5 separate regions of the Homo sapiens genome follow, and regions 1, 2, 3 and 5 are each linked to region 4. Evidence: promoter capture Hi-C in 16 types of primary human blood cells and fetal thymus (Javierre and others, 2016). All regions are on one chromosome and are shown on one strand. The core of a region is centred on a gene start or on the middle of the fragment in contact, and the rest is flanking DNA. Distances in the headings are between cores, read along the strand shown. Region 1 overlaps SLC14A2 (solute carrier family 14 member 2). Region 2 overlaps SLC14A2 (solute carrier family 14 member 2). Region 3 overlaps SLC14A2 (solute carrier family 14 member 2). Region 4 holds the start of EPG5 (ectopic P-granules 5 autophagy tethering factor). Region 5 holds the start of SLC14A2 (solute carrier family 14 member 2).

Evidence for each region. The method cuts DNA at HindIII sites, captures the fragments that hold promoters and counts their contacts. A CHiCAGO score of 5 or more calls a contact.
Region 1: a contact is called between a fragment that was not itself captured here and the fragment with the promoter of EPG5 in region 4, in 1 of 17 cell types (naive CD8 T cells). The highest score is 5.8, in naive CD8 T cells.
Region 2: a contact is called between a fragment that was not itself captured here and the fragment with the promoter of EPG5 in region 4, in 1 of 17 cell types (total CD4 T cells). The highest score is 5.0, in total CD4 T cells.
Region 3: a contact is called between a fragment that was not itself captured here and the fragment with the promoter of EPG5 in region 4, in 15 of 17 cell types (activated CD4 T cells, non-activated CD4 T cells, naive CD8 T cells and 12 more). The highest score is 14.8, in activated CD4 T cells.
Region 5: a contact is called between the fragment with the promoter of SLC14A2 here and the fragment with the promoter of EPG5 in region 4, in 1 of 17 cell types (total CD4 T cells). The highest score is 5.5, in total CD4 T cells.

Annotation. Positions count from the first base shown.
Region 1 is chr18:45,631,739-45,634,438 of GRCh38, forward strand. It overlaps SLC14A2 (solute carrier family 14 member 2), which reads left to right. Exons shown (of 20, transcript NM_007163.4): 5 at 612-740. The region is part of intron 8 of LOC105372093 (a long non-coding RNA gene); the gene reads right to left. Among named protein-coding and RNA genes, the nearest start is that of SLC14A2, 18 kb to the left of the region's middle. The HindIII fragment of the contact is 4,158 bases long and covers 1-2,700 here.
Region 2 is chr18:45,650,573-45,653,272 of GRCh38, forward strand. The region is part of intron 10 of SLC14A2 (solute carrier family 14 member 2); the gene reads left to right. All of the region lies in intron 7 of LOC105372093 (a long non-coding RNA gene), which reads right to left. Among named protein-coding and RNA genes, the nearest start is that of SLC14A2, 36 kb to the left of the region's middle. The HindIII fragment of the contact is 3,101 bases long and covers 1-2,700 here.
Region 3 is chr18:45,675,874-45,678,573 of GRCh38, forward strand. The region is part of intron 18 of SLC14A2 (solute carrier family 14 member 2); the gene reads left to right. All of the region lies in intron 7 of LOC105372093 (a long non-coding RNA gene), which reads right to left. Among named protein-coding and RNA genes, the nearest start is that of SLC14A1, 47 kb to the right of the region's middle. The HindIII fragment of the contact is 2,682 bases long and covers 1-2,680 here.
Region 4 is chr18:45,965,921-45,968,671 of GRCh38, forward strand. EPG5 (ectopic P-granules 5 autophagy tethering factor) reads right to left here and starts at 1,409. Exons shown (of 44, transcript NM_020964.3): 1 at 1,257-1,409. The coding sequence starts at 1,319. RefSeq lists an enhancer at 1,168-1,669. The HindIII fragment of the contact is 12,390 bases long and covers 1-2,751 here.
Region 5 is chr18:45,614,208-45,616,907 of GRCh38, forward strand. It overlaps SLC14A2 (solute carrier family 14 member 2), which reads left to right and starts at 1,269. Exons shown (of 20, transcript NM_007163.4): 1 at 1,269-1,375. All of the region lies in intron 8 of LOC105372093 (a long non-coding RNA gene), which reads right to left. The HindIII fragment of the contact is 14,354 bases long and covers 1-2,700 here.

The DNA of each region.
Region 1 (2,700 bases), core at 197-2,696, 330 kb before region 4:
AGCCTTCCAAGTAGCTGGGACTACAGGCATGCACTATCACGCCTGGCTAATTTTTGTATTTTAGCAGAGATGGGGTTTCACCATGTTGCCCAGGCTGGTTGAACTCCTGGGTGCAAGTCATCTTCCCACCTTGGACTCCCAAAGTGCAGGGATTACAGGCATGAGCCACTGAGCCTGGCCAACTACAGAGAACTTTACACAATGTAATCATAACACTCTTTCTCCTTCCCTCTCTTCTCTCTCCCTCACTCCCACACACAACTTCCTTGTGTCACACCTCAGGTTTCTATTATATTCCCTCTATATTTAGCAGTCTAAGTCTCCCCTGATAAAGAAGAGCTTAACCACAGACAAAGTGCATAATTTTAATTGTCGATCAGCAAGACAAGGGTGTGTGTGTGTGTGTTTGTGTGTGTGTGTGTGTGTGTGTGTTATCAGGAAAGGTGCTGGCAGCTATGTGACTGCCCAATATTCATTGAGCGAACTGACTTTTTTCTAAGCATTATTATTAAAGGAATCATCTAAATTAAGCATATCCTCAGAGCACCAGGAGGGAGGGGCCCAGTAACACCACCAACTTCAAATGCAAAATCAGTCTGTTTCACCGCCAGGTCTGCCATTGCCTCAGGACTCCATGGGTACAACGGGATGCTGGTGGGACTGCTGATGGCCGTGTTCTCGGAGAAGTTAGACTACTACTGGTGGCTTCTGTTTCCTGTGACCTTCACAGCCATGTCCTGGTGAGGCACCTCATTTTTTCTGCTCACAGCTCCATGGGGCCCCCAAGACACTTGTGTCTTATACTGGCCAGAGACAGGACATACACATGTGGGACCCAGCCCCTTCATAGCCAAGTTAGCTTGTCTGACACCATGAAAGCCCATGAGTTCTCTTGTAACACAAGGGGGTCATTTGGAGATATGGAATAAGGAGGATTCTTTTGTTTTTTGTTTGTTTGACACAGAGTCTTGCTCTGTCGTCCAGGCTGGAGTGCAGTGGCGCAATCTCGGCTCACTGCAAGCTCCACCTCCTGGGTTCACACCATTCTCCTGCCTCAGCCACACAAGTAGCTGGGACTACAGGCACCCGCCACCACGCCCAGCTAATTTTTTGTATTTTTAGTAGAGACAGGGTTTCACTGTGTTAGCCAGGATGGTCTCGATCTCCTGACCTCGTGATCCACCTGCCTCGGCCTCCCAAAGTGCTGGGATTACAGGCGTGAGCCACCATGCCCAGCCAGGAGGATTCTTTAAACCAACAAAAGACAACATTTTTTTTATTGCAATGGTAATCTTCCTGAACGACATTCTTAGTAATAAAAGTCAGCATTTCCTAAGTTATTCCTACATGCTTGACACAGTGCTAAGCAGGGCTTATGCAGTGCTAAGTATGGCTACATTTGCCATCAGTTTATGGAAGGGAAGACCAAGGCATGCAGAGATTAAGTCACTTGCCCCAAGTTGTACTTTGTGGTAGTTTTTGATGCTGGCATTCCAAATCCAATCTGCACTATTAAACCCCAGGTTGCATGGGAATTGTCTATTATGTGACGTAACCAAGACCTAAAAGCTGAAAACCTGCTTGTGATAGAAGCAGAGAGCTTTCTTGGAACAGAATATTTATATGTAAAGCATAGAACCTTTGAACTGGAAGTATCGGTTGAGATCTTGCTGGGCAATCACCTCATATTCTAGATGAAATAAGAAGGTCACCATGAAAGGGAGTTAGGAACAAATATTCACCTAGCGAAGGGTGTGCTGGGCCATTCACACAATGATTCTTAGTTCACGTAAATTTACAGCAGGTCTATCAAGCATCTTGGGGTCTCTGCAGTGTGCTCACTGTCATGGTGAACCTTTGTCCCCCAGACCCTGACTTCACATGTGTATACCACCCTGTTCTCAACTTCCCTCAAACAGTGTGATTTATTCTTATTGTCAGCAATAAATCAGACAGGATGATTTACTTTTAACATCTCTAAGAAGTAAATGTCTTTCCTTGGTTTCAAAGTCTGCAGTTACTAAAACCAGCTAGTTTAATTTAGCTTAACTACTCTTTTATTACTTTTTAGTAGTGCTTGCAAATAAATTACTACATTAAGGATTCTGGGCAATTTAGTTTTCCTCTTAGGGTTTCGTTCTTAATCCATTGGGACAAAAAGCCAAGACAGTCATTTCTATGTGGATTTTCTTAATGCCCCCCACGTTCCTGCCTGTGAAAAGGAGAACTTGCCCTCATTTGCAATACATTTGGTTTAAAACTACATAGATTAAGCCCCTCAACACAGCTCCTCAACCACATTGCACTGGCTGGCAATTAGACTTCAGTGCCCCCCATCCCACTTCCCAATTTAAAGGACAAAAAAACACTGAGCACCCCACCCTGGGCTCTGTGCTACTACTCCAGTGCATTCATCAATCCATTTATGGGGACCCTGAAATTCAAGTCATAGGGTAGGTATTTGTAGTGCCATTTTCCAGATTCATTCAATAAACAAATATCTGTTGAGTGCCTGAACTATTTGTTGAGTGAAAGGTTGACCCTAGATGCTGGGAATATTTGTAAACAAGGAAAAGTCTCTATTCCCTTGGAACTGACATTCTTCTTGGCTAAGACAGAAATAAACTCATAAACTAGTTAATAAAAGGGATCATTTCAAGATGTGATAAGTGCTTTGAGGAAAGCAAGAGAGGCTAAATG
Region 2 (2,700 bases), core at 121-2,620, 320 kb before region 4:
GACAACAAACCAGGAAAGAATCAGACCAGCTCCTGCCTTCAAGGAATTCATTTTATGGGAATTTACCTGGCCAGGTGAATAGTCTCACCTGAGGTGAAGATGAGGATGCGGACTGCCTGAGCCCACTGAAATTCACAGCACCACAGGTGTTTTGGGTTTTTTTGTCTTGTTTTGTTTTGTTTTTGAGACGGAGTTTTGTTCTTGTTGCCCAGGCTGGAGTGCAATGGCACGATCTCGGCTCACTGAAACCTCCACCTCCCAGGTTCAAGCGATTCTCCTGCCTCAGCCTCTTGAGTAGCTGGCATTACAGGCACCCACCACCATGCCCAGCTTTTTTTTTATTTTTAGCAAAGATGGGGTTTCACCATGTTGGCCGGGCTGGTCTTGAGCTCCTGACCTTGTCAGGCTGATCTTCTGTTTAAAAAGTGTTTTAGGCATGATTTTAAGGGTTCCAGGAAGATTTCAGTGCCTTGTCCCCTTGTATCCCCTATCTTTCCATTACCTGCAGCCCAAGCATTCCCAGCCATTCCTTCAACTTAAGGCTTTGAATCTGTTCAACTGTAAACAGTCCTGAGAAGGTACCACAGTAAACATGATCAATCATTTGTATCTTAGGCCAAAGGAGCCATTTCTGAGAACAGTTCTGATGAAAGGGGAAGAAAGAGTACAAAGAAAAATGGGTGGCACATTTCGAGAGGGTCTTTGGCAAAGGAGGGCATGCCAAGATGAGGCCAAGCTGGATGGATGAGGGTCTGGAGCACCATCATCTCACAGGGGATGATGAAGCTGGTTGTGTTTGGCTTGGAGAAGAGATGAAAGAGCTGCAGCCGTGTGTGTCTGCAGTATTAGGTAATGCATGTGGGAGAAGTCAACTTGTTCAGTGTTTCTCCAGAGCACAGAGGGAGTGCACTAGGTACGAGTGATAAGCAAATGGACTTTGAATCAGTGGAGAAAGGCACTTTTTAACAATGGAAGTTGCTTGAGAGATAATGTCCTATAAGGTCCTAAGATTTCTGCCCTGATAGTGCAGGAGCAGGGTGTGGAGGCCGGTTGGAGATGCTTGTTTGGGGTGGGTAACCAGACCGGATTACCACTGCGGCCTCTCTTTTCCAATTCCCAACGTTCTGTGATTCTATGGCCCTGAGTTCCCATGGAGGAATAAAGAGGAGTTATCGCCGAGGTGGTAAAAAGGTAAGAACATGAAGACCATGTGTACCAAAAATATGCCACAAGTGCCTTTGCTACTTTTCTAGAGCTTAACCAGTTAGCCATTTGGCCACTTTACCAAAATGCTCAACATGGTTGCTTACATGGACAAAAGCTGGGGACCAACATTATTCAACTCTCCTTGGCATTGACTTTCTCCTTCCCATCACTCTCCTCTCTGAAGGGACTCTCTTTCTGGTCAACCCTCTAAGATCTGCCTGTCAGGAAACTGTCTTCGCAGCCTGAGTTTGTGGTTATATCAGACCAGTGTGCAAACATCGTGGAACATTTGTTTATGCTTTCCTGTATGAGCCTAAACTTTGTTTTCTTGGGTCATAAAGGTTTTGATGGCCTGAGGACAGCTCTAATCTAAAACCAGGTGGGGGCTGGCAGTTTCAGTATGGGCATGATTTCTACTCAATAAACCATGGTCTCATCTGGTAACTTTAAAGGCATTCACATTTTATGTGAGACTTTTTTTACTTGCCTGGTTTTTCCTGTCTCTAGCCATTCAGAGAAGATGAAAGAATACACAGGGAGCCCTTCTACCCCAAGTGGAACTAGAAATTCCAAGACCCCAAGAAGGGGGCAAGGGGGAAAATGACAAGTCCTTTTTAACCCTCTGCAAATTGATAACAAGGACCTCCCAACCCCCTTCTACCGCTGCACAGGCTGCTAGAGCAGAATGAAGCAAAGTAAGCAGCCCTTTGGAGAACTTCCAGCTCCAGCTTGCATTTATTCCACATGGACTTGGGCCCTTTCCCTTGGAGGATCTGACCTTCCCAAGTTTAGCTCCTGGTGGTCAATGCAGGCCTCCTCCCTCTGTAAAGTTGAAAACGTAGAATTGAAGGAAGCCACGAGCATTGTGAAGAAAACCTTGTTCTGAAGCGAATTTCAATTGAGCCTTCAAATAAAGAGTGTAGGCACAAATTGATCTCTTGAAGAGCCCTTGGTATCTGAGCTCTAGCCTTTATCTAGCTCTAGTCAAGGGGACAAGATTATATCTTGGCCTTCTGCTTTCCAAGGCAGCACTTTATTGCCCCACCCTGAGTCTAGTGTTTGTGACAGATACTCACTACATCTTGAAGAACCACAGTTCCATTTGGCTAATGGAATGTGTATGAACTTCCTGAAAGCCTTCTTAAGCAGTCATTTCCTGTCTTTTCAAATTAATGACATATTGCTCACAGGTGGCTCCCTGTTATGTCTGGAATAGGTGGATGCTTAGGTAGCTGGAGTGAGCGCATCTCAAGAAGTTCAGGAGCCCTTGGGAGAAGCCAGGGCAAGAGAACAAGGGACAGCAGCAAGGACTGAGCCAACAGACCAGCCAGCAGGGACAAGAAAAACGTGAAGGCTCCGTGTTAACCAGCAGATAGCCATGGATCCTGAACTAGCAACACAAGGACAGGCCTCCATGCAGGCGACCGACCTCCCCTCCACACCATTCCCCACCACTCCTTGGAATGTGGGGGCCTGCTGGGCTCCTCCCACCCC
Region 3 (2,700 bases), core at 90-2,589, 290 kb before region 4:
CTTACTTGTGCGTAGGGCCCATTGATAGGCAACCAGGAGGCAGTGAGAGCAGGAGGGAATGATAGCTCCTTCAGCAGACAGAACAGCCCCACTGGAATTAAATGTCACTGTGAATATTTTAATTTAAATTAACTTTAACTTCTTAATAGGCCAGCATTTTTACATGACCTGAAACTAGACCTATGCCTAAGTTCCTTCCTTCCATAAAAATGTCCCAATGGCAAAAATTCTAAATGCTCAGAGATCTTTAAAATCAGTCGTCATTTATATTATTAAATTGGTTTGGGCCTCATCCCATTAAAAATTAAAAGTCTGAATGCTAGAAATGAGAAGTCAAGGAGTCCTGAAGTTTTTAAAGATTCAGAGTCAAGACTGTGCCACTCTAGGCTCTCTTAGTGGCCCATGACTTCCACATAGGATCGGAGCAGGTGGCCCGGTGGGGAGGTGGCTGCGTCCAGACCGTGGAGCTATAACTTCTGTCCAGAGTCTCAGAGGACAAGGACATCTAGGATACCAGCTGGGAAAGGACATTACAGGATATCCCTGGCTACCAACTCCAAGTTCTACTTATTCACTAAGGGATATTCATGTTTAACAAACAAATCTTAAATGCCCAATTTATGTCAGATGTTACACGGGTGGTTTTCAACCAGGGGTAATTTTCCCCTTCCCCAGGAACATTTGGCAATGTCTGATGACATTTTTCTGTGTCATACCTGAGGCTGGGGGAAGTGCTACTGGCATCTAATGGGTAAAATCCAGAGACGCTGTTAAACACCCTACAATACACAGGACGGCACCCCCAGAATAAGGAATTGCCCCATCCAAAGTGTCCATGGAGCTGGAGCTGTGAAACCTTGGTACAGGTCATCTCATTTAATCTTCCCTCCAGCCCCATAAAGTGTGTGGATGATATTAATATCCCCATTTCACAGATGGAGAAATGAGGCTAAAGGAAGCTAAATACATTACTTGAAGTCAGGTCTGCCTGACTGTAAAAGGCTGTGCTCTTTGCAGGACACCACACTGTTTCCTGAAGCCAGTGCTTTTTCTACCAGTAAAAAAATCCAAGCCCAGAACAGTTAGGCCCTTTTCCAACATCATACAGTCAGTGATGGATAAGACAGGCCAGGTGGCCAGGCATCCTGTTGCAAAGGTTCCTTCCACCACTGCCTGCTCGGCACATCACCTGAGACAGACAGTTTTCCCTCCAGCCCAGGCAGGCCGCATGTCTCATTTCGTCTTCTTTCTTCTATCCTTCCTCCTCTCTCCCGACTCTGCAAGCCCTATAGCCACACAGGAGCCCACACGGGGTTTTCGGAGGGTTTTCCTGCTAGTAATAACACCAGATTTGATAAAATAGCAAATATCAGTGGGGGAAGAGGGAGACAGAATGAATCCTTTGGCTCTGGGTCCCAGGGAAGATGGATGGAGTTGGAGTCTTCCATTCTTCACAGACCAAGCCCAGAGTCCCACTCAGGCCATCTGGCTCCCCTCTATTCGGGGGCCTTGGTAGTGCTTGGTTTGCCTCTCTCTTTCCAACCTCAGATCTGAGAGGCTGATTAAGAGCCCACTCCCAGAGCCAGATGGCTGGAGCTCCGCCACTTGTTAGCCATGTAATCCTGGGCAAGTTGCTTGAACTCTCCATGCCTGATACTAACAGTGCCCAACTCCTACAGCTGTTGTCAGGATCAAATTAGATCATTTGTGAAAATGATGAGAATAATGCTGACACATAGGGAATGTCCAGTAAGTGCTGACCTCTATTATCTCTAGTTAAATGATGTATGTTAATTAATGAGGATTCAGCAAACACAAAGGACGGCATGGGCTCCTATTCGCTCTCAGAGAATAAGCTGCCTGGTGTGACCCATGAAACCCATTGACAGCCCCACATTCTACTTCATGTAACTCATTTAACTCATTCTCTTTTGTTTGTTTGTTTGTTGTTTGTTTTTTGAGATGAGGTCTTGCTCTGTCACCCAGGCTAGATCACAGTAAGTAGCATGATCATAGTTCATTGCAGCCTCAAACTTCCGGGCTCAAGCCATCCTCCTGCCTCAGCCTCCCAAGTAGCTGAGATTACAGGCACATGCCACCACACCCAGCTAATGTTTTTGGTTTCTGTAGAGATGGTATCTTGCTTTGTTGCCCAGACTGGTCTCAAACTCCTGGGCTCAAGTGATCCTCCCATCTCAGCCTCCCAAAGTGCTGGGATTACAGACGTGAGCCGCCACTCCCAGTCGTGTAACTCATTCTTTAATCTCATCTACTCTTCCACCTTGAATCTCCCCTCCAAAACAAAAGGGGCTTCTCCAACTGAAATATAGGCTGAACAGTCATATTATTTCACCTCTCTGAGCCTCAGTTTTCTCATGTGTGAAATGAAGACGATAATAGTGCTTACACTGTAGGAATGCTGAAAGCTATGGTAGTATTGCTACTAGCTGGGCACACAATAACACACTAATAAAGGTTAACTCTTGTTAATATAATCCTAAGGACAATTGGGATGCTCTCAGCGAGAAATGAAGGGTTTGGAAGCAAAGGCCAATTACACTAGTACATTTTAATAGCTTCTCCCCTGTTGCCAGCACTGGGCTCATTCCCAGTGGCCAGCCTCGTCATGCCTTCTGCAGAGCCTACACGACAAGGCACTGGGCATGTCTAGTCTTCCTCAAGCTTTCAGAACGCTGCTCT
Region 4 (2,751 bases), core at 159-2,658:
CGCATGCCTGTAATCCCAGTTACTCGGGAGGCTGAGGCAGGAGAGTCGCTTGAACCCGGGAGGCGGAGGTTGCGGTGAGCCGAGATTGCACTCCGCCGAGATTGCACTCCAGCCTGGACGACAGAGCGAGACTCCATATCAAAACAAAAACAAAAACAAAACAAAACATAGGCTGGGCGCGGTGGCTCACGCCTGTAATCTCAGCACTTTGGGAGGCCGAGGCGGGCGGATCACGAGGTCAGGAGATCGAGACCATCCTGGCTAACACGGTGAAACCCCGTCTCTACTAAAAATACAAAAAATTAGCCGGGCGTGGTGGCAGGCGCCTGTAGTCCCAGCTACTCGGGAGGGAGGCTGAGGCAGGAGAATGGCGTGAACCTGGGAGGCGGAGCTTGCAGTGAGCCGAGATCGCGCCACTGCACTCCGGCCTGGGCGACAGAGCAAGACTCTGTCTCAAAAAAAAAAAAAAAAATACATATACATATATATACACACACACATATGTATATATGTACGTATATATGTATATATGTGTACATATGTATATATGTGTATATATGTACTATAATAAAATGAAAATCCAGACTGCACTTATAAACAAATCAACTTAAAATCACTCTAATACCACATGTAGTCTAATACAGGAAACTCAGAAAATTCAAACACTTCCCTACTGTGTGAGTCCCGCCCTGGGTTAATTTCTAGCCATTCATGCCCCTTATAAACAATCAAGACAATAAGAAATAAACAGAGGCAGCACTACTATCATCTTGAACTTTCAAAGTGATCAGAAATGGCACAGCACTAGTCTACTTATAAAGTTCTGCCAAAGGTACCTTCTCCGCGTGGAGGAGGGGAACATTCCCTCTTTATGCATGGCAGGGACTAAAAATGTTCTAGGATATAAAAGAGTAAAGAGAGAGTCAACGATGGGGCTGGAAAGAGAAAAATTATTTCACGGCAGGAAACCAGACCCAGGTGAGGAAAGCCAAGAGAGCAGAAAAGGAAGAGGCCAGTGAAGTCACAGGAGGGAGAAGGAAAAATGGGGTCCTGACAGAGTGTGGCAGGGGGATATGGAGAAGGAATGGAGGAGAAGGGCCGGTGTCAACGGGTGGTGGGATCAAATATTGGAAGGTGGAGGCGGAAGATGCAGAGGGCTCAGGGAACGGGAGTAGAATTGGCTGGGGAGGCCGAAGAGAGGAGCAAGGAGACACAGCACACTGCCAGAGCCTCGGGAGGGTGGGGGAGATCCTCACCTTTGTTTTAGTCCGGCTGGCCTTGGCCTTGGCCCGGCGCTGGGGCTTCACCGCCTCGGCCATAGACCCTTCCGCGGCGCCGTCACCGTTTGTTTTTGTCAAACCCCTGCGCTTCAAGCAACCTGCCCGGTTCTGGCCTCCGGACTGTCACATGATCGAATCTCCGCCACTCCCGGAGAAGAGGCGGTGAGTCGGCGCCTCTACGGGCCGCAACGTAGGACAAACCACTCCAGGACGCATTTGCACTGGAGGAAGGCAGGCCCGCCCCCTTCCCGGAGCCCAGGCCCCACCCCTAGCCCTGGCTCCACCCGGCGCGCAGGTGTCTTGGGTTGCGCTGGACAAGGGCAGCGACCCAGGCTGACCCACCTCCTCCGTCTCCCGGCTCTGCGGAACCTCACTCAGTGCGGATCCCGGGCGCGCTCGCACACCTCACCCGCGTCGGCTTGAAGAAATCCGGAAAGTGGGTTTGCCATTCTTTTTTTTCATCTTCAGATAAACCAGATCCAGTCGGTTAGCCTAAATCCGCACTGCGCGCAAGGAAGAAACCCTGACGCCCATCGGGGTGTGCACTTCGGCGTCCTCTTTTGTAAAGGGGAATGATCACACCTGCCTTTTCGGATGTCATGAGAATTTAATGGGCTCTCCCAGAAAGGTGCCTGGTAGCGGCAGGCATGTCGGTACATGGTAGTTATTAATTATCATTACTGTACAAATTCCCAGACTGGAAAAAAGACATGTGCTCCTAAAAGGACAGGCAAACAGGTAACAAGATAAATAAGATCCGTAAAAGTATTCTTAGTATACATTTTACAGTGTGCTTCATTTGAAATTTCCAGATGTGAAAAACTTGTCCACATCTTCCCTTCCCAGCTCTAGGATTTCTGTGATTTGCTTGTATCCTTATTGTTAGTGTCTGTCAATCCTCCCAGAATGTAAGATCCTCAAAGGCAGGGTTCTTAATTTTGTTGCCTGATGTATCCAAGGGTCTTTAGAACACTGCACGTAGTAGCACATAGTAGATACTAAATAAATATTTCGTGAATCACACAAATGAGTATGAGTTTTGTCTGGCGGTGGGGTAAGATCGTTGAAATGGAGTGGGCCAGGCGCAGTGGCTCACGCCTGTAATCCCAGCACTCTGGGAGGCCGAGGCGGGTGGATCACCTGAGGTCAGGAGTTCAAGACCAGCCTGGGCAACATGGTGAAACCCCAACTCTACTAAAAATACAAAAAAGTCGCCGGGCATGGTGGTGGACGCCTGTAATTCCAGCTACTCGGGAGGCTGAGGCAGGAGAATTGAACCTGGGAGGCGGAGGTTGCAGTGAGCCGAGATCGCACCATTGCCCTCCAGCCTGGGCAACAAGAGCGAAACTCCCATCTCAAAAAAAAGAAAAGAAAAGAAAAAGAAGAAAAGGAAATGGAGTGTATGGGAGGGAGGAAAAAGACCATCCACCCACCTGTAGCATACCCTAGAATAAAAAATCCAGCAATATGG
Region 5 (2,700 bases), core at 19-2,518, 350 kb before region 4:
GAGCCTGCAGGTGCACAGAAGTCAAGAATTGAGGTTTGGGAACCTCCACTTAGATTTCAGAGGATGTATGAAACGCCAGGATGTCCAGGCAAAAGTTTGCTGCAGGGGTAGAGACCTCATAGAGAACCTCTGCTAGGGCAGTGCAGAAGGGAAATGTGAAGTTGGAGCCCCCACACAGAGTCCCCACTGGAGGACTGCCTAGTGGAGCTGTGAGAAGAGGACCACCGTACTCCAGACCCCAGAATGGTAAATCCACTGTCAGCTTGCACTCTGCACCTGGAAGAGCCACAGACACTCAACACCAGCCTGCGAAAGCAGCAGGAGGAGAGCTATACCCTGCAAAGCCACAGAAGCAGAGCTGCCTGAGTCTGTGGGAGCCCACCTCTTGCATCAGCATGACCTGGATATGAGACATGGAGTCAAAGGAGATTATTTTTGAGATTTAAGATTTAATGACTGCACCACTGGATTTTGGACTTGCGTGGGGCCTGTAGCCCTTTGTTTTGGCCAATTTCTCCCATTTGAAATGGGAGCATTTATCCAATGCCTCCTGCACCCCCACTGTATCTTGGAAGTAACTAACTTGCTTTTTTTTTTTTTTTTTTTTTTGAGACACAGTTTGCTCTGTCACCCAGGCTGGAGTACATTGGCACTATCTTGGCTCACTGCAACCTCCACCTCCCAGGTTCAAGAGATTCTTCTGTCTCAGCCTCCCAGTAGCTAGGACTACAAGTGTGTGCCACCACACCCTGCTAATTTTTGTATTTTTAGTAGAGACAGGGTTTCACCACATTGGCCAGGCTGGTCTCGAACTTCTGACGTCAAGTGATCCACCCGACTCGGCCTCTCAAAGTGCTGGGATTACAGGCGTGGGCCGCCGCACCCGGCCATTTGCTTTTGATTTTACTGGCTCATAGGTGGAAGGGACTTGCCTTGCCTCAGATGAAACTTTGGACTTTGACTTTCAAGTTAATACTGGAATAAGTTAAGACTTTGGGGGACTGTTGCTAAGGCACAATTTTGTTTTGAAATGTATAAAGAACATAATATCTGGGAGGGGCCAGGGGCAGAATGATATGGTTTGGCTCTGTGTCCACACCTGAATATCATCTCAAATTGTAATCCCAGTAATCCCCATATGTTGAGGGCAGGACCCAGGGCAAGGTGACTGGATCATGGGAGCGGTTTCCCCCATGCTGTTCTCGTGATAGTGAGTGAATTCTCACAAGATCTGATGGTTTTATAAGTGTTTGGCAAGTTCCTGCTCCACACCATCTCTCTCTTCTGCCGCCATTTGAGAAGGTCCAAGTTTGCTTCCCCTTCGCCTTCCACCATGACTGTAAGTTTCCTGAGGCCTCCCCAGCAATGTGGAAGTGTGAGTCAATTAAATTTCTTTTTTTTTTTTTTCTAATAAATCACCCACTCTCAGGTAGTTCTTTATAGCAGTATGAGAATGGACTATTGCAGTGGGGGAGCCAGGATTTGAATCCAGGTATTCTGTCTCCACTGTGCCACCACTGTCTAATAACACTAAAATTAACTACCTAGAGCCACCTCGGGGCAGCTTGTGTATATAAGTATGTGTGCATGTGTGTATGTGTAGGGGTGTATGTGTGTGTGTGTGTGTGTGAGAGAGAGAGAGAGAGAGAGAGGGAGAGAGAGAGACTACTACATTGTGAAATAGTCCACCACACAAGCCAGAGCAGAGGTCACCATGCTCCTAAGAGGCCAGGAAGGCACCATGGCCATGTTAGGGGTGGGTGTGTGAGCAGGATGTGTGTGAGTAAAGGAGATCAATATTCGTGCATGTGGAACTGAATTGGAGGTAGCTGTGGGACCTCAGGAGGCCACCTGCCCAGAACAGTGGCACACACTGCAGAGAAGCTGAAAATTGTCTTGGGCACAAGTGGAGCACCCCTGGGTAGAACCGAGGGAGATTGAGAACAGTTGCTATCTTCAGAGCTTTTTAACTTCTCCCCCTAAGTAGCCTCAACTGATGGGAGAATTGACACATTACCCCTACGTAATAGGTGGGCACAGCCTGAAGCAGCCACCTGCAGACTCTACATTTCTTCCCTTTATATTTTATTTTAATAATATAAAGAGTTGCATTTGACTATTTTATAAACCATGTTTGCTTAAATATACAACTATTATTCTATATTAGTTCATATCAAGCTCAATCAGCATTCCAGAAAACTGTGCTTCTCAGTGCCCTGGGCATTGACTACTCTGGCTCAGAGTTTCATGCCCAGTTTCAGGAGCGAAGCACTCAGACATGGAGCACCTCAGAAGGTTTTTGAGCAGTGGCACGACCAAGTCATGTTTTAAGATAATTTACCCATCACCAGTGGCAAGGTGGAGAAAAACTGGGGAGACTGAAGTGAGGGAAATCAGCTAGAAGGTGACCTGCGTTGGGGAGGGCCTGGCTTAAAGGGAGATAATGGGCTGATCCAGACTGAGGGCTCTGAAGGAGAACTCGATGGCTGAATAATTGCAACTGATGGAATGCAAGAGGCAATAAATAAATTGCCATTTATTCATGGGATGAGAGGGCTCAATATGTGGAACATTGAAGGGTCACCCCACTTTAGAAGTGTCACATAAGGACCGGGTGCAGTGGCTCACACCTGTAATCCTAGCACTTTGAAAGACCAAGGTGGGCGGATTGCCTGAGCTCAGGAGTCTGAGACCAGTCTG